Linked DNA regions of Homo sapiens: region 2 is linked to region 1. The links are contacts of gene promoters, found by promoter capture Hi-C in blood cells and fetal thymus (Javierre and others, 2016). All regions are on one chromosome and are shown on one strand. Each heading gives the region's core, a stretch centred on a gene start or on the middle of the fragment in contact. The rest is flanking DNA. Distances are from core to core; before and after follow the strand shown. Region 1 holds the start of SH3RF2 (SH3 domain containing ring finger 2). Region 2 has its middle 150 kb from the start of PRELID2.

Region 1 (6,064 bases), core at 2,293-4,792:
ACGCTATCCTAAGAGTGAAGAGAAACCCAGTGGGTCAAGAGTGTGCTGAGTGAGGGGGTGATGGGGGTATAAGTTGAAGCAGGAGAGGTGGGCATGAGCCAGATCACGCAGGGCCTGACAGCGCGGAAGAAGGATTTGATGTTATCCTAAGGTTATGGAAACCTACTGAAGAGTTTTGACTAGGGAAACAATAAGACCAGGTTTGCTTGTTTGTGTGTTTTATATACATAAATCTAAATGTACTCATAAATATGCACAGCAGAAGGTCAGACATATCATACAGATTTTTTAAAAGAATGCAGCCAATCATCACCCCATAACTATACAGATAGAAACAGGAGTGTTGGTGGGGTGGGAACAGCGGGAGAAGGGAGGTGGCCTGGAGTCTGAAGAGGTATGCATAGTTCACCTTTTTGTTTGTTTTTAAAGACTACATGTTCATCTGATTTGATGCCAAGGTAGTATTTGGGTAAGCCAGAACAAATCCCCATTTAAAACTCTCGCCCTTCTTTAAAAGTTTCAAGAAATTTTCTCTTCAAGACTAACCTCATGTGGGTGGTGTTGGGGACCACCTACAGGGCGTCGTTTGAGAGGTGCTGAAAGATGACCCCTCGCTTCAGTGTACCTTTTCTCTGTCCTCCATTAGAACCTAAAATTCTACCATCACGATTCTACTTGGCTGGATTTTCAATTGCCAGATTTGCTACAAGAGTAACCCACTGGATCTAGTCTGCCTTCCTGGGACTGAGCTGGTTTGACTGCATTTTCTCAGGGATGGGAAGGTTTGAAGCTTTTAAGACCATTGACCATACAGGGGTGTGGAGGGGCCATGAGATGGGTAGACTACAACCCAGAGGGGCCCAATCTCCTTTTCTGACATCAATATTTTGTCTTGGGTTGGCTCTGAGATCAGCTGGTGTGTACAATATGGGTATATGTGTAACCATGTGCAGATTTAAATAGTAAAGATACATGGGTGTACTTATGATATGTACATGATTTTATAAAATGAAAAGAAACACAGGCCCCGGGATTAGACCAACCTGAGTTCAGATCACAAGGTTTGTAACCCTGGGAAAGTTACAGTATCTTACGGGGTGGTTGGGAGAATTCAATGAGATAATATGTTTAAAATCTTAGCATTGGTCAGTGGCATACAGCAAGTGCTCCATAGGTGTTACTATTATTAAGATTATGTATGTGTGCACCCTTACACAAGTGTATGCATGCATCTGCATATAGGTGCAGATATGAGTATGTAAGGGAGATAGAGTGTGTTTAAGAACAAGAGAAAGAATAATGAAAAATATCGCCAATCTCTGCAACAGGAGTTCCAGCATAGGAGTGGCCCTTTTTACGGAGTGAGACCACTGCAGGGCACAAAGGAAACTGACTCAGCTTTACTAAGTGGGAAACAGAGTAAGAGGACAGTAAACCTCAAGAGCTTCCTTAGTGGCACAGACTCAAGAGTAGAAATTAATAGAAGGAGACAGGCAAGCAGAATGGGATGTGATGTTATCAAAGCTCAAAAGTGACGTTAAAAAAGTAATAGTTGAAAGTGGTCTCTGAAATTGTCCTACATCAAAATTAGGCCTCCGTGCTCAGAAAATAGATAACCATCGGCTCCATCCTAAAGTTCTGGGCCACATGCATGTTTGATGTTTTGGAACTAACATGAAAGAACGTGGAAAAATATGTAAACAATGTTTTCAGACCTCCTGGTCTCCTCTTAAGATTTTCCCATTGAGCTGTGTCTGAACACTCTCTGCATAATAAATAATTGTCATCCTTACGTCTAGAGAGAAGATATAGTAATAACAATAATTTTAAAAAGAACACCCAGTTTCTTTCTCTTTTTTTTTTTTTTTTTTTTTGAGACGGAGTCTTAGTCGCCCAGGCTGGAGTGCAATGGCACAATCTCAGCTCACTGCAGCCTCCACCTCCCAGGTTCAAGTGATTCTTGTGCTTCAGCCTCCCAAGCACTCCCAGCCAACACACCCAGCTAATTTTTGCATTTTTAGTAGAGATCGGGCTTCACCATGTTGGCCAGGCTGGTCTCAAACTCCTGACCTCAAGCAATCCACCCACACCTCAGCCTTCCAAAGTGCTGGGATTACAGGCATGAGTCACCGCGCCTGGCCTCAAACACCTAGTTTCTAGTCCCAATTCTGCCCCTAACTCACTGGACAACTTCAAAGAATCCCTTGATCTTTCTGGGCACAGCTGCCTCATCTGTAAGAGAAAGTGAGTAGCCAGTTTTGTCCATTATCTTTTGACCTCTTGCCCTCTTAGGGGAGGCTTAGCTCCCTTGAACCACCTCTTCACCTCTTTTTTTTTTTTTTTTTTTTTGTCGCCCTGGCTGGAGTGCAGTGGCACGATCTCAGCTCACTCCAGCCTCCGCCTCCCAGGTTCAAGCGATTCTCCTGCCTCAGCCTCCTGAGTAGCTGGGACTTCAGGTGCGCACCACCATGCCCAGCTAATTTTTGTATTTTTAGTAGAAATGAGGTTTCACCATGTTGGTCAGGATGGTCTTGATCTCCTGACCTTGTGATCTGCCCACGTCGGCCTCCCAAAGTGTTGGGATTACAGGCATGAGCCACTGCGCCTGGCCAGCCTCTTAAAGTTATATCACTCCATGACATTGTTAAGAGCACAGCCCACTTGCCTTCTGCTAGCTGTGACTCCCGAGATGAGTTATTTATCCTCTCTGTGTCTCAAGTTCCCTCATCTGCAAGATGAAAGTAAAGAATAGTTTAGTGTCTCCTTGGGTTGTTAAGGGGTTAAAGGGCTAACACAGGTAAGGTATTTAGAACAGTGGTTGACACAGATAAGGACTACCCTGGCATTAAGATTGTTATTATTCACTTAATCGGATACCTTTGTAATTTTACATGAAATGTATTATCGATAAATCAAAAAATAGAAATATAGGCATAATCTGAGGATATGAAAAGACTACAGTGGATAACAGGCAGGAGGAGAGCTTGGAGGCCACTGCTTTTCCTTTTTTGAAAAAGCTTCTCTGTGCTTTGATTTTTCACGTATGTGTATATACGTGACACTAGTTTTTTAATTTAAACAGATTGAGCAAAAAGATCACTAAAGTCCCTCTTATCTCTAAATTCAGAGATTGACTATGATTTTCAAAGAGCAATATTTTCTAGGTGTCCGACTTATCCTTGTTTTCATAGCTTGACCATTTTTACTTTTGACCTTCCCAGGAAATCCTTATGAAGATTTAAAATAAACACAATCACTTTGGTATGTTTATAATGGAGCAGGTTCTGACTCCTTGGATACTACAGAAAACGGGAAAGGTGAAAATATGAACTTTGTAAATACTTGGCCTTAGGGACTGGCTTATATTTTACCTCTTACAATCTTTTCCCAGAAGCAATTCAGTAAACTGAAGGAAAGATCATAAAGTTAACAACTGCAACAACAAAAGCGTGGTAAGTAGGCAGCGCCCTGGCAGTGAAAGCGTTAACAGGGCTGGGTAAGGCGATCCCTTGAAATGAGTAAGACTGAGTGGTTAAAGTTTTCAAAGCGGTTGGCAGCAGCGGCGCTTGGAGGAAAGGAAGCCGGTTGGAGGGCGCAGCGCACCCCTGCTGCGCGGAGGAGGGGGCTGAGCTGAACTCAGCAGAAGTTACATGCACAAGGTTAGTGGCCCCCACACGCCTCCCCAGCCCGCTGCCGCGCTGACATCTTTGGAGAGGAGGCTTAGGAAGGCGAGGCGCCATCGCTCATTCTCGGTCGTGTCTGTCCTGCTTACTAGTCGCTAGTGGGGCCACTGGCCTTCTCGCCAAACCTCTGGGCTCGGTGCTTACCGAAGCCCTGGCACTTGTGAGGGACAGCTGACTTCTTCCAGACTTTTCTAAACTGGAGGCTTCTTTTCATACATCCAAAAGGAAACTTGTTTCTGGAACAAGTACTGTTTTCAGAGTACACACACACACGACCCCTACCTGTATATGCTGCCCCAGTACGGTTTTTACAGGTCGTGACCACAATCCAGAATTCCTATCTGCTTCATTTGAAATTGAGAACAATGTCAAAGTAACTAAACAGGCTGCACTACTTTACCTTGTGGGAGGAACATTGTCTCTGAGCCTAAGGTAATCGGGATGAGGAGAGAAAAAAAAAAAAAGATGAAAAAAGAAAAGAAACAAAGCTTCCAAGCACCCTGACCTGTGGTTAAGGCAAAACAATTTTTGGAAATGGGTTTCTAGTGGAAATTTTTCTTGTACATTGCTAGAATCATGTGGGAAGGTATATTGTGAAGGAAATAATTCTACATCTGCATGAGATTCAGATAAACTTACCCACCTAAACTAATCTGCATGTGGTGCAGATAATAGATACATTTAGATTTAGGGGAAGGAGGAGGAGGAGATAGCTTCACAGAAATTGCGTTCGGAGGGGGCTTTGTTGTAAGAATTGAGACTGTCCAGGAGCTTTCCCCGGGCAGGGGGTAAAGGACCTCTTCCCGCCCTGGCTGGTAGAGAGGGGTTGGGGGGCCACTTCAGCAGGCCAGTTTATCTCCCTGCTTTCCTGTCCACATAGGCAATAAGCAGTCAGTCTTGTGCTGAATGTTCCCTCTGATCCTCACAGCAAGCACGAGTTGAGTCTTATACCTGCTAGCATTGAATCAGAATGAGTCATTTGAAACTTGGGTGCCGGAACAAAGTACTTGCAAACTGCCTTATGAGACACTGCCTCAATGTAGGTGGGATATACCTCTCGGAGCAGTCACATTTTTTTTTCTCTCCTCTCCCTCCTTCAAGCAGGCAAAAATTCTGACGTTCTCAAGAGACCAGCTCTGCCCCCGTGGCTCAACTGACCCTACCATGTGGACGCTGCTCCTCCAGGTGGGAACTGGAGTTTTGAAATAAAATGGATGATTTGACGTTACTTGATCTTCTGGAGTGCCCTGTGTGCTTTGAGAAGCTCGATGTCACAGCCAAAGTCCTCCCTTGCCAGCACACCTTCTGCAAACCATGTCTACAGAGGGTTTTCAAGGCCCACAAAGAGCTGCGGTGCCCCGAATGCAGGACGCCTGTGTTTTCCAACATTGAGGCGCTGCCGGCCAACCTGCTGCTCGTGCGCCTTCTGGATGGAGTGCGCTCAGGGCAGAGCTCCGGGAGAGGGGGCTCCTTCCGCAGGCCTGGCACGATGACCTTGCAGGATGGCAGGAAAAGCAGGACCAACCCCAGACGTCTGCAGGCCAGTCCTTTCCGGCTAGTGCCTAATGTCAGAATCCACATGGATGGGGTAAGAGAGATCTTATTTGCTAATATCATGTCCACATAGAGGTTGGATTTGTGTATACAAGGAGCTAGAGATTATCTTCTTTTAGTTACATTCCAGAGTGCTGCTGTTGATTTCCCAGTGATAAGTTTCTGTGGGCAGTGATCATTTTACTCAAATACAATGAAAACCTGAGCCTATCTAATCCATCTAAGAATTCTCTTTAGAACTATTAAAGCTTCCTAGGTTCTCCTTTCCTCTAGTCCAGAAAGTAGTAGAACAAGGAAAGCCTTTTAGATTATATTTTTGGTGTTTCACTTCTGCTGTTCTGAGGCCAAACTAGTGCCTGGGAAATGCACGGAGGGTGGGGAGAAACAAAAGAGAGAAAACAAATCCAACTGCTTGTTGCTTTTGAGATCTCTCAGAAATTTCCAAATGTCAGGTTTTGTTTGAATTTTACCCAAATCCATCTTCCCACCCCTAGTCATAAAGTGCTATTATGGCAATACTCATTCATAATCTGTTCCAAGCTATCAAGATACTTGACGCGGGAGATAGTGCAGGAGGGAAGCATCTATGTGGGTGGACTGATTGATAGCAAAGGCTGGGCTGTGAAGTGCTTCAGCTGTGTATAGGAGCTCTGCAGATGTGTCTCATTTTGCAAAATGAATGAAATACAGAGAAGATACACAGCAGGGGCTGCAATTAAAAAACCAAACAGACCCAGTTACGCCTCACAGGAGATTAATGCTTTTCATGTTTGGATAATGGGAATCGCTCTGTCCAGCGCTGAAAGCACACCCCGAGGACTTTATCT
Region 2 (6,344 bases), core at 1,138-3,637, 250 kb before region 1:
AAGATGTAATGATGTGTTCTATACTACCCCTAGAATAGATTCAGCAATCAACAAAACTGTTATTATTGAACATGATAGTCCAAAAAATATCATAACCAGTATACTGGTGTGCTAGGGCTACTGCACCAAATACTACAAACTGGATGGCTTAAATAATAAAACTTTATCTTCTCATAGTTCTGAAGGCTAGAAGTCCAAAACCAAGATGTCAGGATGTTTGGTTTCTTCTGAGGACTCTCTCCTAGACTTTCAGATGGCCACCTTCTCGCTATGTCCTCACATGGCCTCTCCTCTGTGTGCATGCATCCCTAGTATCTCTCTGCATATCTACATTTCCTCTTGTTAAAAGCACACTAGTCACATTGGATTAGGGCCCACCCTAATGCCCTTATTTTGCCTTTATCACTCTTAAAAGGCCTTATCTCCAAATACAGATACTCTCAGATACTGGAGTTTAGGGCTTCAACACATGAATTGTAGGAGAGAGGGAGAACACAGTTCAACCTATAACGACCAGTATGGCATGGAGCTGACCAATCACAAAGGGGGCTGCTTGGTCACTGGCCAGTAGAACGAGCTGCTGATTGTATAGAACAGCAGAGTGCACTGATGCACATTGCTTATTGGTATTATTATTATTACTGAGTTTTAATAGCACTGCCTCTACTCAGGGATATACCAGGTTTGTAAGCAGAGCGACACAAAGTTTTCTAGAGGGGAGATTCCAGGAAGCAAAACAGTCTCCAACAAATGTTAACTTCTACATCCTGCCATGCCTGGAACCGGACAAATACAGAGATGCTTTAGAGCTACCTTGTGAAAAGAGACAAAAGGGGAAGAGCAGGAGGGGGAAGGATAAGAGAGTTAATGGTGACTGAGATTTGAACAAAGACAATGAGGAAGAACATGTATGTAGAGGAGAAAAATGACATGAAAAGAGTCAATAGTCCAGGGGTGAAAGAAGCCTCGATGGGCTGGGCCCTAGCTTTGGTTCTAGTCCAGGCTCAACAAACCAATCTGAACTTTTACGCAATCAGAATAAACTCTTCTTTGTGGACCTCCTTCATGAAATCCTGCTAAAAGAGATTCTTCCTCTTCCTCTCTATCCAAATGGATGCTTTTGTTATCCTGTGTTGTTTCAGACTGTAGGTCGTGGGAGAGAAAGGAAAAAAACCCCACTAAAACCTATCACTCTCTTCTTATTGTTTCCTTGTTCCTCTCTTTGGTTAGCTTTCATTTTGTGCTTGCCCATGTGCAGGCACTGTGCTTCACATTCATGCTTTCATTTAATCCTCATAGTTGTTCTGTTATTATTTCACAGATGAGAAAATATGAGGTTCAGAGATGTTTAGTGACTTGCCAAAGGTCAAACTAAGAGTAAGTGAAGAGCTGGGACTTGAACTTAAATCCATCCCACTTAAAGTCCCTGCTCTTAACCACCATTATCATCCTGTGGCTGTATATTCAGGAAGGAAACACATGGATGAACCAATCCTGGGGGCAGGTAATGACCAGCACCAGCATTTGGAGTACAGATTGTAGTCATGGGTGCTGTTGGCACCACTAAGGCAATAACAGTCATCATGGAGTCTAAGGTCAATGCCAGGATTTGAGGTCACAGCTTTAGGAAAAACTGAAGATGGAAGGAGGCTTCAAAGTCCAGACCAAGGTTGGGGTATAAGACAGATATGAAGAAAGTTGGGCTGTTGGTCTCTGATTTATCTTCCTCCCTCACTGTCCACATCCAATTAATCATCAAGTCTTGTTGCTTCTACTTCCAAAATATTTCTGCCATTCTTCTGCCTGTCCCCATCCTGACTGCCACTATCCCAATACATTGAGAGAATCAGTTAGTCTCTCTGTTTTCAGCTTTGCCCCTAAACCTTTTATTCCACTGCAGTCAGAATTCTTACTCTGAAATATAAATCTAATCCTACCACTTCCCCACTTATGTGGCTTCAGTAGCTTCCCATGGCCTCAAAGGCTTCCAAAGCTTTCAATTACCAAAGCCACCTCTTACCTCCCTGTTTTCACTCTTCCATAAGGCATACTGAACAACTTTCGGTTTCTCTGATGTAATACGCCATGTTCTCTCCAGTCGCTAGGTCTTTGCAAATGTTATTCTTGCTCTCTAGAGCCCAGTTTCTACCCTAATGTTTTCAAGTCTCAGCTTGGACATTGCTTCTTTGCAGAAGCCTTCTCTGGCATAGATAAGAATTTAGAGGACAAACCTAAACCTCATCACATTGAAGTTCCTCCATGACCATTTTTTTCCTACCCTCAACACTCATTACAAAAGCAAGTATAATGCTTCATTGCAGTCCCACATCTGTTTCAGGAGTGCTATAAAACATTGTCTATGAGTGTAGAGAGGGAAGTTCTATATATTAATCAGAGAGAGACAGAGAGACCAGAAAACAATTGCCTGTAGTAAATATTAAGTCAGTACCACTGTAAAAAGCAGGAGTCCCAGTGTATAGAGAAAAGAGGTAGAAAGCCGCTGACCCACAGGAGAAAGTAGCCTTCCTCTGCAGAGGGTCACCTAGAAGAGAAGGTAAACAAACTTCAAGCTCTTCAGCTTCCCTATCCTGGACAGTTTCTGACTCTGAGTTCTGTGAGGAATCTCCTCCAAGATTTTCTGAGGAAGGATCCAAAAAAGCTGCTTGACTTCTCTGTTCACCCTGGTCCCTGATATCGCCATTCTTTGAAAAGCCCTTTGTCATGGGTTTCCCATGTTACATGGGAATGAACAGCATGGCGATGTATAAATTCTTCACCAAATCAAGCTTTTCTCTTCTGCCTTTGTTATTCATCATAGGTAAAAGTGTCTGTTACAGAGGAAATTACACATGTAAACCCACTCACTTTACCTCCCTCCTAAGTCTGTTACATGCCTTCCTGTAGCATCCTGTGCTCAGCCAATAGAATTGCCTCACCCAAACCCTACATACACAAGATTATAAACTCCCTGTAGGTAGGGACCACATCTGAGTTATTCATTTTAAATTCACTGCCTAGCACAGTGCCTGGCTTATAAGGGGGATTTTCAATAACTAAATTCGAATGAATATTTATAATATAAATAAACAGTCTAACAATATGTATGCCTTCTCATTAATAAGATGCATAATAGATGAAATTTCCCCTCACCACCCAGCCCCACCATGCCCTTAGCAACAAGATCTAAACAGGGGAAGGGTCTTTCCCCAGCCCCACCTAAAAACGTCTTCTAATCCCACTTTTGGAACAGCAGAAGAAACATTCAACCAGAAATAAGAAAGCTGTGAAAAGGCAGAGTCCATTTAGGGTTAGTTTGAAGACTATTTGTGTGCGTGTTTTTTTAAAACAACATCTGGACAAATTTTAAAATGTACTTGTGGTCCCATTCATGAAACGGGAAGCAGACCATGGGCTCAGAGCACCAATTACTTGCCCTTTTGTTTCCGCCATTTCTTGGAGAAAATTTAGTGAGCTAACTTGCAGCATGTCAATATAATAAAGTACCCAACATCTGGGTAAATTATAGATTAGCTGCAGTAATTGTTCAGCTTTTAAAAAGAATTTTCCAAATAAAAAATTTTTTCTTTAATTTTAATGCATTTTGTTCAATGTCCTATAGTTTTGAAAAATGCATCATAATAGAACTGAAATGATCTTATGGCATTTTACCCACATTTGATCTAATTTCCCTAATGATTTTTCCAGCTCTTCTATTAAAGCAAGACAAATTGTCATCTAGAGAGATGATGACAAAAAAGTATGAAAATAATTACAGGTTTTTTTTAATTTGTCACTCAGACTTGGAGATGCTAAATGATGACCAAGAAGATCACCAGGTTAACCTGGAAGAAGGTGTTCTCTCTGGTTATTACCATGTCAATACTACTGTTATTTAACAACCTGGCAGTGTTAATGGGACTCTTCTTCTGGGGATGAAACTATGGGGGGTCTTCTGACCTCCAAGTCTCTTGGCAGCTTTTAAGAGAAAAATGCACAAGACATGTGGTCAGGAAAGCCGGGTCCCAGTCTTAGCTCTGCCATTTGCTTCCTGCATGGCCTTAAAAAGCACATCGTCAAAAGACAATCAGACAAACCCAGGTTGAGATTCAATCTACAAGATAACTGGCCTGGACTCTTCAAAAATATCAATGTCATGAAAGTCAAGGAAAGGCCTAGGAACTTATTCTTGAATAAAGACAAATAAAGAAATATGACCACTAAAATGCAACATGTGATCCTGGACTGGATCCTGGATCAGAAAATAAAAGTGCTATAAAGGACATGATTAAATCAACTAACAAAATTGTCATTCTTTTGTTTATCGATGTGTTACCTTTCAGATTGTCTCTTTCCAGTAGAAACTCCATGACAGCATGGACATTTTCTAATGTATTTGCTTATGCATCACTAGCATTTAGGGGATGCTCAATGATTTTTTTAATGACTAAATGAATAAATGAGTAGAATCAGATCTGTCAATCCAATCATTGTCCACAAACTACCAGTATTTCCTAACTTTAAATCAATTAAATATTTAGATGCTTTAAATCAATTACCTCATTTAAATAAATAAAGTCAGTGCTATTAGTCCCATTTTACAGATTAATAAACTAAGAATCTTATCAAGGTTTCTATCTCCCAGTGAAACTAGAGGCAAAGCCAAGATTTAAATCAAGTTCAGACTCCCAAGTCTTTGTTTCTTCATTGCATGGTGCAGCCTCAGAAAAGCACTCACATTCACAATCTTCTCCTCTGATCCAATGCCTCTCATTGGCATCCTGAAATCATATATGCAAGGGCTTGACAAGGTTTCATTTTCTTCTGCCACTTGTCTTTGACACGATGCCTTCAGCTGCTGTGGGTGATGGGAAGGCTTTTAACCTGGTGAATCAGTAGCTGATCCCTGTCCACCTTCATCAGCGGTGTGACACATGGCAGCCTCAGAGACATCTCAGGTCTTTAAGGCATCTTGTTTGTTGCCCTCCAGTCTGACTTTGGCAATTTTCACAACATTAACTTGTCCTTTGGATGAAAGATAAAACCCTCGGTAGTCACTTAGGGCGTGACTTGCATCAGCAGTAATGGTAACTGGAGTTTTGTCCTTACTTCATAAAAGTAAAAAGAAAGCATGGAAATTTTCTAAGGAAGTCCTCGTCAAATATTTATTCAGCTACCTATTGAGTTCTAGGCATTGCTCTCAAGCAGCTTGCAGTCCAGTGACAGAAACAGATAATCAAACAATATATGCCATCAGAAAGCAAGTACAGCATACCACAGGAAAGGGGGAGAAGCCAAAAAAGGTTTGGGACATGACATCTCTGCTGATGCATAAATAATACCTAGAGTTACCCAGTTAAAAGGGTAGAAGATGTCAATGTTCTTAGCAAAAGAAACTGTACATTTAATGGCCTGATCATGACAGAGCATGACACATTGGAAGAACTTAAGGAAGACCCATGTACCTAGAGCGTAAGGTGCAAACTTGCAAACGATGCAACTATAAAATCAGGCAGGAGGCAAAGGTATGGACCTTCTTCTAAAGGCAATGGGAAGCCAATATTAATTTTCTATCAGAATGATCTTCAGGCTTCATTGGAATAATGGCAAGACAATTCAGGTAGACTGAGACTGTTTCAATCAGTCTAGTCAAGAAATAAAAACTGCACCAGTTATTTTAACAAAAATAATTGAATGTAAAGAATTGTTAGCAAGGTATTGGACAATTGGGAGATCCAAAAGGAGATACTGAGATATCATAAGCATAGCAACTACAGGAAGCAGCTACTACTTCAATGGCTGGGAAAACAAAGAGAAGAGGTTGGTATTATTAAAAAGTATAAATTTGGAAAAGGGCCGCTGGAGAGATCAAGCCCAAACCTCTGAGGAGAGGAAGCTGCCTGGCTGGTGCTTATTTCCCAGGAGTTCAGAGGGTCCAGCAAAGCTGGGATTTAGGCTTCCCAGGAGAGGCCAGTTGGCAAGAGCTGATGTCTCCAAGAGACCTCCGTGAGGCAGGTCCTTAGAGTGTTAAAAAAAAGAAAAACTGCAAATAGGAACCAACTGCTGCTACTAGAAGCAAGTGACACTGCCAAGGAGAAGAAGCATTGCTACGTTACAGAAACAGAAAGGAACAAGGCCCTGTTCCTCCTCTAGTTTCACATCTTCTTCCAGCTTCCTCTCTCTCATTGGCAAAGCCTACCGGGGAGCCAACCAGCAAAGGAGAAATGTGGTTTGCAGAGTTCCAGCCCCAGTATCAAAAAGCCAAGTAACAAAGATGACTTTGAGCTGAGAAACAATAGCTTAGTATTCAACACATCAGAGGTTTGCAGGCTTCTGTCTCCATAAAT

Evidence for each region. Contacts are between HindIII fragments. The CHiCAGO score rates a contact against its expected background, and 5 or more counts as called.
Region 2: a fragment that was not itself captured here is called in contact with the fragment with the promoter of SH3RF2 in region 1 in 2 of 17 cell types (M0 macrophages and M2 macrophages); the score reaches 8.1 in M0 macrophages.

The regions. Positions count from the first base shown.
Region 1 is chr5:145,933,036-145,939,099 of GRCh38, forward strand. It overlaps SH3RF2 (SH3 domain containing ring finger 2), which reads left to right and starts at 3,543. Exons shown (of 10, transcript NM_152550.4): 1 at 3,543-3,659; 2 at 4,788-5,271. The coding sequence starts at 4,894. LOC107986458 (a long non-coding RNA gene) reads right to left here. Exons shown (of 4, transcript XR_001742913.2): 4 at 2,666-2,728. RefSeq lists an enhancer at 3,281-3,858. The HindIII fragment of the contact is 1,154 bases long and covers 3,016-4,169 here.
Region 2 is chr5:145,683,272-145,689,615 of GRCh38, forward strand. It overlaps a transcript of PRELID2 not described here. Among named protein-coding and RNA genes, the nearest start is that of PRELID2, 150 kb to the right of the region's middle. The HindIII fragment of the contact is 793 bases long and covers 1,992-2,784 here.